Linked DNA regions of Homo sapiens: region 1 is linked to region 2. The links are contacts of gene promoters, found by promoter capture Hi-C in human tissues and cell types (Jung and others, 2019). All regions are on one chromosome and are shown on one strand. The core of a region is centred on a gene start or on the middle of the fragment in contact, and the rest is flanking DNA. Distances in the headings are between cores, read along the strand shown. Region 1 holds the start of UBAC1 (UBA domain containing 1). Region 2 holds the start of WDR5 (WD repeat domain 5).

What was found. The method cuts DNA at HindIII sites, captures the fragments that hold promoters and counts their contacts. A contact is called where the count stands out against the background at its distance.
Region 1: a contact is called between the fragment with the promoter of UBAC1 here and the fragment with the promoter of WDR5 in region 2, in 1 of the 25 tissues and cell types used here (spleen).

What each region holds. Positions count from the first base shown.
Region 1 is chr9:135,960,059-135,963,044 of GRCh38, forward strand. UBAC1 (UBA domain containing 1) reads right to left here and starts at 1,315. Exons shown (of 10, transcript NM_016172.3): 1 at 967-1,315. The coding sequence starts at 1,104. RefSeq lists silencers at 925-1,044, 1,055-1,464 and an enhancer at 935-1,435. The HindIII fragment of the contact is 18,279 bases long and covers 1-2,986 here.
Region 2 is chr9:134,134,546-134,137,504 of GRCh38, forward strand. WDR5 (WD repeat domain 5) reads left to right here and starts at 1,537. Exons shown (of 14, transcript NM_017588.3): 1 at 1,537-1,655. WDR5-DT (WDR5 divergent transcript) reads right to left here and starts at 1,437. Exons shown (of 2, transcript NR_186420.1): 1 at 641-1,437. RefSeq lists enhancers at 578-687, 1,594-2,518 and silencers at 878-1,047, 1,488-1,667. The HindIII fragment of the contact is 22,361 bases long and covers 1-1,543 here.

The DNA.
Region 1 (2,986 bases), core at 65-2,564, 1.8 Mb after region 2:
GACCACACTCAGCTCAAGTGTAACGCACTCAACCTGTCAACACAGATACGTCGTAACTTATCACATGGAGTCGCCACTAGAAAATTGCAGCCTCCTTCAACCTAAATTCTGCCAAGCCCTCAGATCATGTCAGGTATAGACAGGAGGTCAGTCTGACACACAGACAGGCTTCTTAGCTGACCTTACTGAGTCCTTTAGAGACTCGAGAACTAGTTCCAAAAATCAGCAACCTAAGGAACTAAATACACAGGAGTATTTCAGGTGAATAAACTTTAAAAAGTGTCTCCGCGAGGAGACCCTACTCCTGGGACTTCTCTCTTGACCAATTTTACCTCTGCAGAAAAGCAGGGGCGCAGGGCCTTGTCCCGCAGCGGCACTATTTCAGGGACTCCAGCTAAAAGGCACAGTGGCCTGGGGCCAGCCAGGAAAAGAGCTCCAAGCAGCCGGCTCTGCGGGAAAGGGGAAGAGGAAGGAGAAGGGGCCTCTTCATGAAGGAGCCTACGTTAATTCTCAGCTCTCAAAGATGCTGCTGAAAAAAAACCTCACCCCAACAGCAAAAAGGTACAACTGCCGGAAAGTCCCGAGGCCCTGCTCCGTCGGCGACTTCACTCTCCAGGCCTCAGTTTCCCGATCTGCCCCTACCTCCCTGCGTGGCTGCAGAGTTAACTGAGAGGCTGGCGTGTACAGGGCTCGGCCGGGCGGCTGGCACGGGGCGAGCGCTTAGTGACCGGAGTCCGCCGGCCGAAAGGCCAGGCCCGGGACGAGCGTCCAGAGGTGTGGGATCCGAAAGGGGGAGAGTCGGGCAAACGGGCAGGAGGCGCTGCCTCCACCCCCGGAGGAGAGGGCCTGGGAGCTGCGGACTGGGCGGCGGACCCCAGGTCGGGGCGGTTCGGGGACTGAGGCGGGGTCCGCAGTCGGAGGGGTCCGGAGCGGGTGTTGGGGGCAGGGGAGGGGGCCCGGCCTTACGTGCTTGAGGCAGCGCTCCTTGAGCTTCTCCACCGAGGTGTCCTCGGTGGCCTCCTCCAGCCACTCGGCGCCGTCGGACGCGCAGATGTGCAGCCGCAGCACCTTGCCCGCGAAGATCTTCTCCTCCTGCACGAACATCCCGCCGCCGCCGCAGGGGCCTGCGCCCGCCACCCGGGCCCCTGAAGGTCACCGGGAAGGCGGGCGGGGAGGGGGCGGGGCCAGACCGCCCGCGCGCTCCTTCGCTGGGCCGCCGCCCCGCCCCGGCTCCCGTCGGCCGGGCCGCCGTCACTCTCCGCGGCCTCAGCGGTCGCCTCGCTCCCGCCGCCGCAGCAGCCGCCGGGGGCGCGCCGTCGCGGCCGCACCGGAAGTGCGTCACGGGCGCGTCTGGCGCATGCCGGGAGATGTGGTTCTCGGACAGGCGCCTCGCTCCCGCCGCCGGGGGCGCGCTGTGGCCACCGCAAAGGAAGTGCGTCACGGGGCGCGCCCGGAGCATGCCGGGAGCTGTAGTTCTCTGGTAGCTTCGTTCCTCCCCGAGCTGCAGGCGGTTCCCACCCGGGGCACTCACCACGTGGGACCTCATGGGTTCTAAAGGTAAAATACACGCTGGATCCCAAAGAAGTAACGGGAAAAAGGAATGTAAGGCATCTCGATAATGTTTTCATATTGATTACATGTTGAAATAATATTTTGTATCTATTGAGTTAAGAAAAATATGTCATTAAAATTAATTTCACCTGTTTCTTTTAACCTTTTTAAGATAGAATTTTAAATTGCCTACATGGCTGCTGTGATATTTCTTTTGCACTGCACTGCTGTAGAACGGAGGCTCTCCAAAGAACTTGGCTTTAACAAGCCTAGGTCTTTCTAATTCACACGCAGATCAGAGAGTCACTGTTCCTGCGAAGCCTAGGTTTGCGGGGCACCCAGAGGGGAGGGAAGCCGCCCTTGGTGCAGGTGATGCCAGGCAGACTCATTTTCTGTGGGGTGTGACAAAGAGTCTTTGCTTGGCCAAACTTAAGCAGGCTCCTGAACCTTCTACATCATCTGTACACTTCCTTGTAAAATCCAGTTTTAGCGAAGAGCCTTGATAAGTGAGTTTAGCAAGAACTCCCAGCCTCAATATCAGATCACCCTGGACGTCTGGTCAGGTTCCTCGTCCCCCAGGTGCTGTCTGATATCTCCAGCCTCTCTTCAGCAAGAACCCTGTCAGGTCGGTTTAGCCAGAACCGCCCACATCCCTGATGTTTTCTCCTATTAATTTTCCATTCACTGACCCCACCCACTTGCCCTTGCTGTATTGGGAGTTGAGCCTGACCTCTCTCCCCACTGCAAGCCCCCTTGGCAGTGGTCTCTGTACCTAGCTCAACAGTCCTGGATAACGTCTTACTTACCATGCTCCTAAATATGAATTTTGTAGTTCAGGTTAGACCTGACACATTGACTGATCTGTACTCATTCATCCCATTCATTTAAAAAAACTTTACTGCGCAGAGATGAATAAGGCACAGTTCCCGTTCTCAGAGGTTAGCAATCTAACCGGGGAGGCTGTCTCTGCCTCCTGCCTGCAGGCTTTTATTCTGTCCACACCATTTTGCACACACATCCTCATTTTTCTCCTGTGATAATTCCAACCTCGTCCAGATTCCATGTGTCCAGTTCAGCACTTACTAATTGCCTCTCACAGGTGGGAGCCTCTGCTACTCAATGAAAATATGGTAGTGATTAAGACCAGACACCAGGATACAGTCCTGGAATGGGGCATTTTTAACGCAGGAAGCAGAAGTACCGACTGTTAGAGACCGCAGTGGAGGTGGTGGTAGTATCGTGGAAGCTGGTGGAGGAGAAAGGGGAGGAACACCAAGGTGGTGAGTGGAGAGTGGGGGAAGCTAGAGGGCTTGGAGGAGCCGGGTCAGAGCATTAAGACGTTGCTGTGAGAGCCACTAACGGTGTGACCAGGTGGCAGAATGAATGGTGGTGACTGTGGAGGGGACAGGGAAGAGGGCAGGGCATCCTTGCGGGG
Region 2 (2,959 bases), core at 287-2,786:
ACTTTAGCCGAATTGAGCAGTGGGAATTAGGGAATTGAGGGCAGTGGGAAGCTGGTTCTGAGTTTTAAACTGGGGAGTGACAGATCAGAGCTGGATTTTTAGGAGTTTCTCTGTTTGGAGGTTTAGAAAAGACCCAGGTGGGAGGTAGGGCTGGGGTGGGGAGGGAGAGAAGTGGACGATCTGAGAGCTGAGGTGGGGTGGAAGGAGAGCAGCGTGTCACGGGCTCGGGATTCCGGCCCAGGCGGCCAGGTGGACGGAGATAAAGATGCGCTTCTTCATCCGAACTGGGTTTGCTAACCTGTGACTGTCACCACTCCATGCTCCAGGGCACCTGGCCCAAGGGATCCGGCCTCTTGGGCACACAAATCCATATGGAGCCCTGAAGGACCAGACAGGGACCTTGCCTTCTCTGTGTCCTTCCTGGGAAGGGGACTCCAGACCAACTGCCAGTCTTCCGGTTCCACCTCTCTGACAACCGCTCACCTCACCCTCCTTGGCATTTTTATTTCAAATGCTCTATCCCTTTGTTTGCATGGGTTCCTGTGTCATATTCTGTGTTCCCATTTTTAATTGGAGAATAAGGGACTGTATGTTATTCTACCCACAGGCCTAGCTGAGGGGATAGGGAGGCCATGCCTACCTCCAAGGCTCTAAGAAGTGAAGCAGGCGGCGAGAATGTGCAGTCGTTGAGGCCAGAGGACCGGGCCTCAGCTTCTCCTTAAGCCCCTGAGTCCTCCTCTGGGGACCACCCCCTTGTACCTGGAGGTGAAAATGCCCGCCCAGGAGGGAAGGGCTGGCCCCGGGAGAGCCCGCTGCGAAGTGAGTTTGCGCACTGCGGAGCGGGCGCGGGTGACTCCAGAGCGGCCCTGCCAGTCCGCGGGGCTGGCGGGGAGCAGGTTCGTGCACCGCGGGCTCTGTGCATGCAGAGGCGGGAAGAGCCCCCAGCCCGGCAGCCGGCCCCGCGGGAAGGCGCAGCCCGGGCTTCCGAACCCTGTGAACGCGCAGGTTCCTGGTCTTCCAGATGGGCAGGAATCGTCCTGCCCGCCCGGGGTGGGAGGCCACATGGGGGCACTGCGCCCGGGCGCGGCCCCAGGTGCTTTCCAAATGCCCACTGCCGCTCTCATCCGTACCAGCGATGATCAAGAAGGGGCCTGGTCGCCCGGGGAGGTGCCCCGGCCCGAATCGACTCCGGAGACAACGCCGGGCGACGCCACCTGCGCAGGTCCCGGAGGGCCGCTGGTGTCTGTGTACAGGGCGTGCTGTCTGTGGAAACGCGAGGGCACACTAGCACTTTCCTGTATGTATTATTATACTTCAGTTTTTAGGAAGTGCATTAGAAGGGCCTGCACCAGTCAAATTCGGGGATTAAAGCTTTTAAGCGGGAAGCGCGCGCCCCGTGCTGTCCCTTTAAAGCGTTGGGCCGGCCCGAGGCATTCTGGCCGCTGTCGCTGCCCGTAGCGCTCCTCCGAGAGGCCGGCTTTGTGAGCTCGCCCCGCCCCCCGGACACCGCCCCCTCCCCTCGCGCACGCGCACTGCGCCCCCGCCGCCTGGCGCCCGCCCGAGCTGCCGCCTTGTCGAGCTGAGTCCGCGCTCCCGCCCAGGCGGCGGCCGACGCGACGCCCCGAGCGCCCGGCCCCGCCGCCGCGGCCCGGCAGGTAAGCGGGCAGCCGCCCGGCCCGGGGAACACAAGGCGGGCAGCGGGGCGGCGCCAGAAGCTTCCAAACCGCACCCGGCCGCCGCACGTGTTCCCCGCCGGGCCTCGGGCCAGGCCCAGCCCCGGGCGCTGCTCCCGCTGCAGCGGCCCCGCCCGGGACCCCCGCCCCGGCCCCTCGGTGGACGGCCGCGCGCGCAGTTCCCTCCACCCGGTCCGCCCCCACTCGCGCCCCCACCTCCGCCTCCCCGGCGGACCGCTGACAAGGCCAGAGCGCCGGCACTGGGTCCTCTTTCCCGCAGGCAGCGTGCCCGGCCTCACATCGCCCCTCTCCCTCCACTGCCCCTTCAGGGAAGGACCCCAGACCCACCAAGCCACTCAGTCCCTGGACGAGGTGCGCTTCCCCTCCTCGTAGAAACGCCCCCAGCCCGCTCCCGCCGCTCACCCCAACCCGAGGCAGCCAGGCTGCAGCTCGCTAGGTGGGGTCCTGGGGTGCGGGTCCTCGGTCCTGAACGGTAGGCCCACCGTGCCTCCTCGCGCGGGGCCGCAGACCTGTCCTGGCCGGTCTGCGAGAGCCATTTTGAGCGGTTACGTTCCCGGACCAAACAGAGGTCGGCCTGTTACATCGCTAACGACACTCCCTGCTGTCTCGCTTGCAAGTTTCCACTCACCCCGGTCCGTTTACCCATCTCCTCAAATGCTAGTTTAATCTGTGACCTGGGCAGGTGCTGTCCTAGCCGGTGGGGAAGACAGGAAAGCGAAGGACCCAGGCGGGGAGCCTGTCCAGGATCTCAGATAGGGAGAGCCAGGTCCCCACCTCTGTTGGGCCGGCCACCCGGCTGGTGTTTAAGATGCAGATTAATTCCTGTCTTTGCACACAGTATGCTTTTCTGACTGCATGTCACAGGCAGATTCCTGGGCTCCACCTCAGGGACTGAGGGACTCAGGAATCGGCCTGTGGCATGCAGTCCAGGAGGGCACACTGAGGTTTGGTTGCTCGGCTTCAGGTGGTCAGGCTTACCTGGATGAAAAGCAGTGGCTGCTAGGAGGAGCCAGGCAGCATCTGGTCTAGGGGCCGCCAATTCATCACCGTTCCCGTAACCTTGGCCCCCGCTTTCCTCAAGATCAAGTCTCCAACCTTCCTGTTCTCTCAAAAGGATTGTTCCACAGAGACACCTGAGTGTTCATGAAAATGCCAAGCCTTGGCCCGGCGCGGTGGCTCACGCCTGTAATCCTAGCACTTTGGGAGGCTGAGGCGGGCGGATTGCCTGAGGTCAGGAGTTCGAGACTAGCCTGGGCAACATGGCG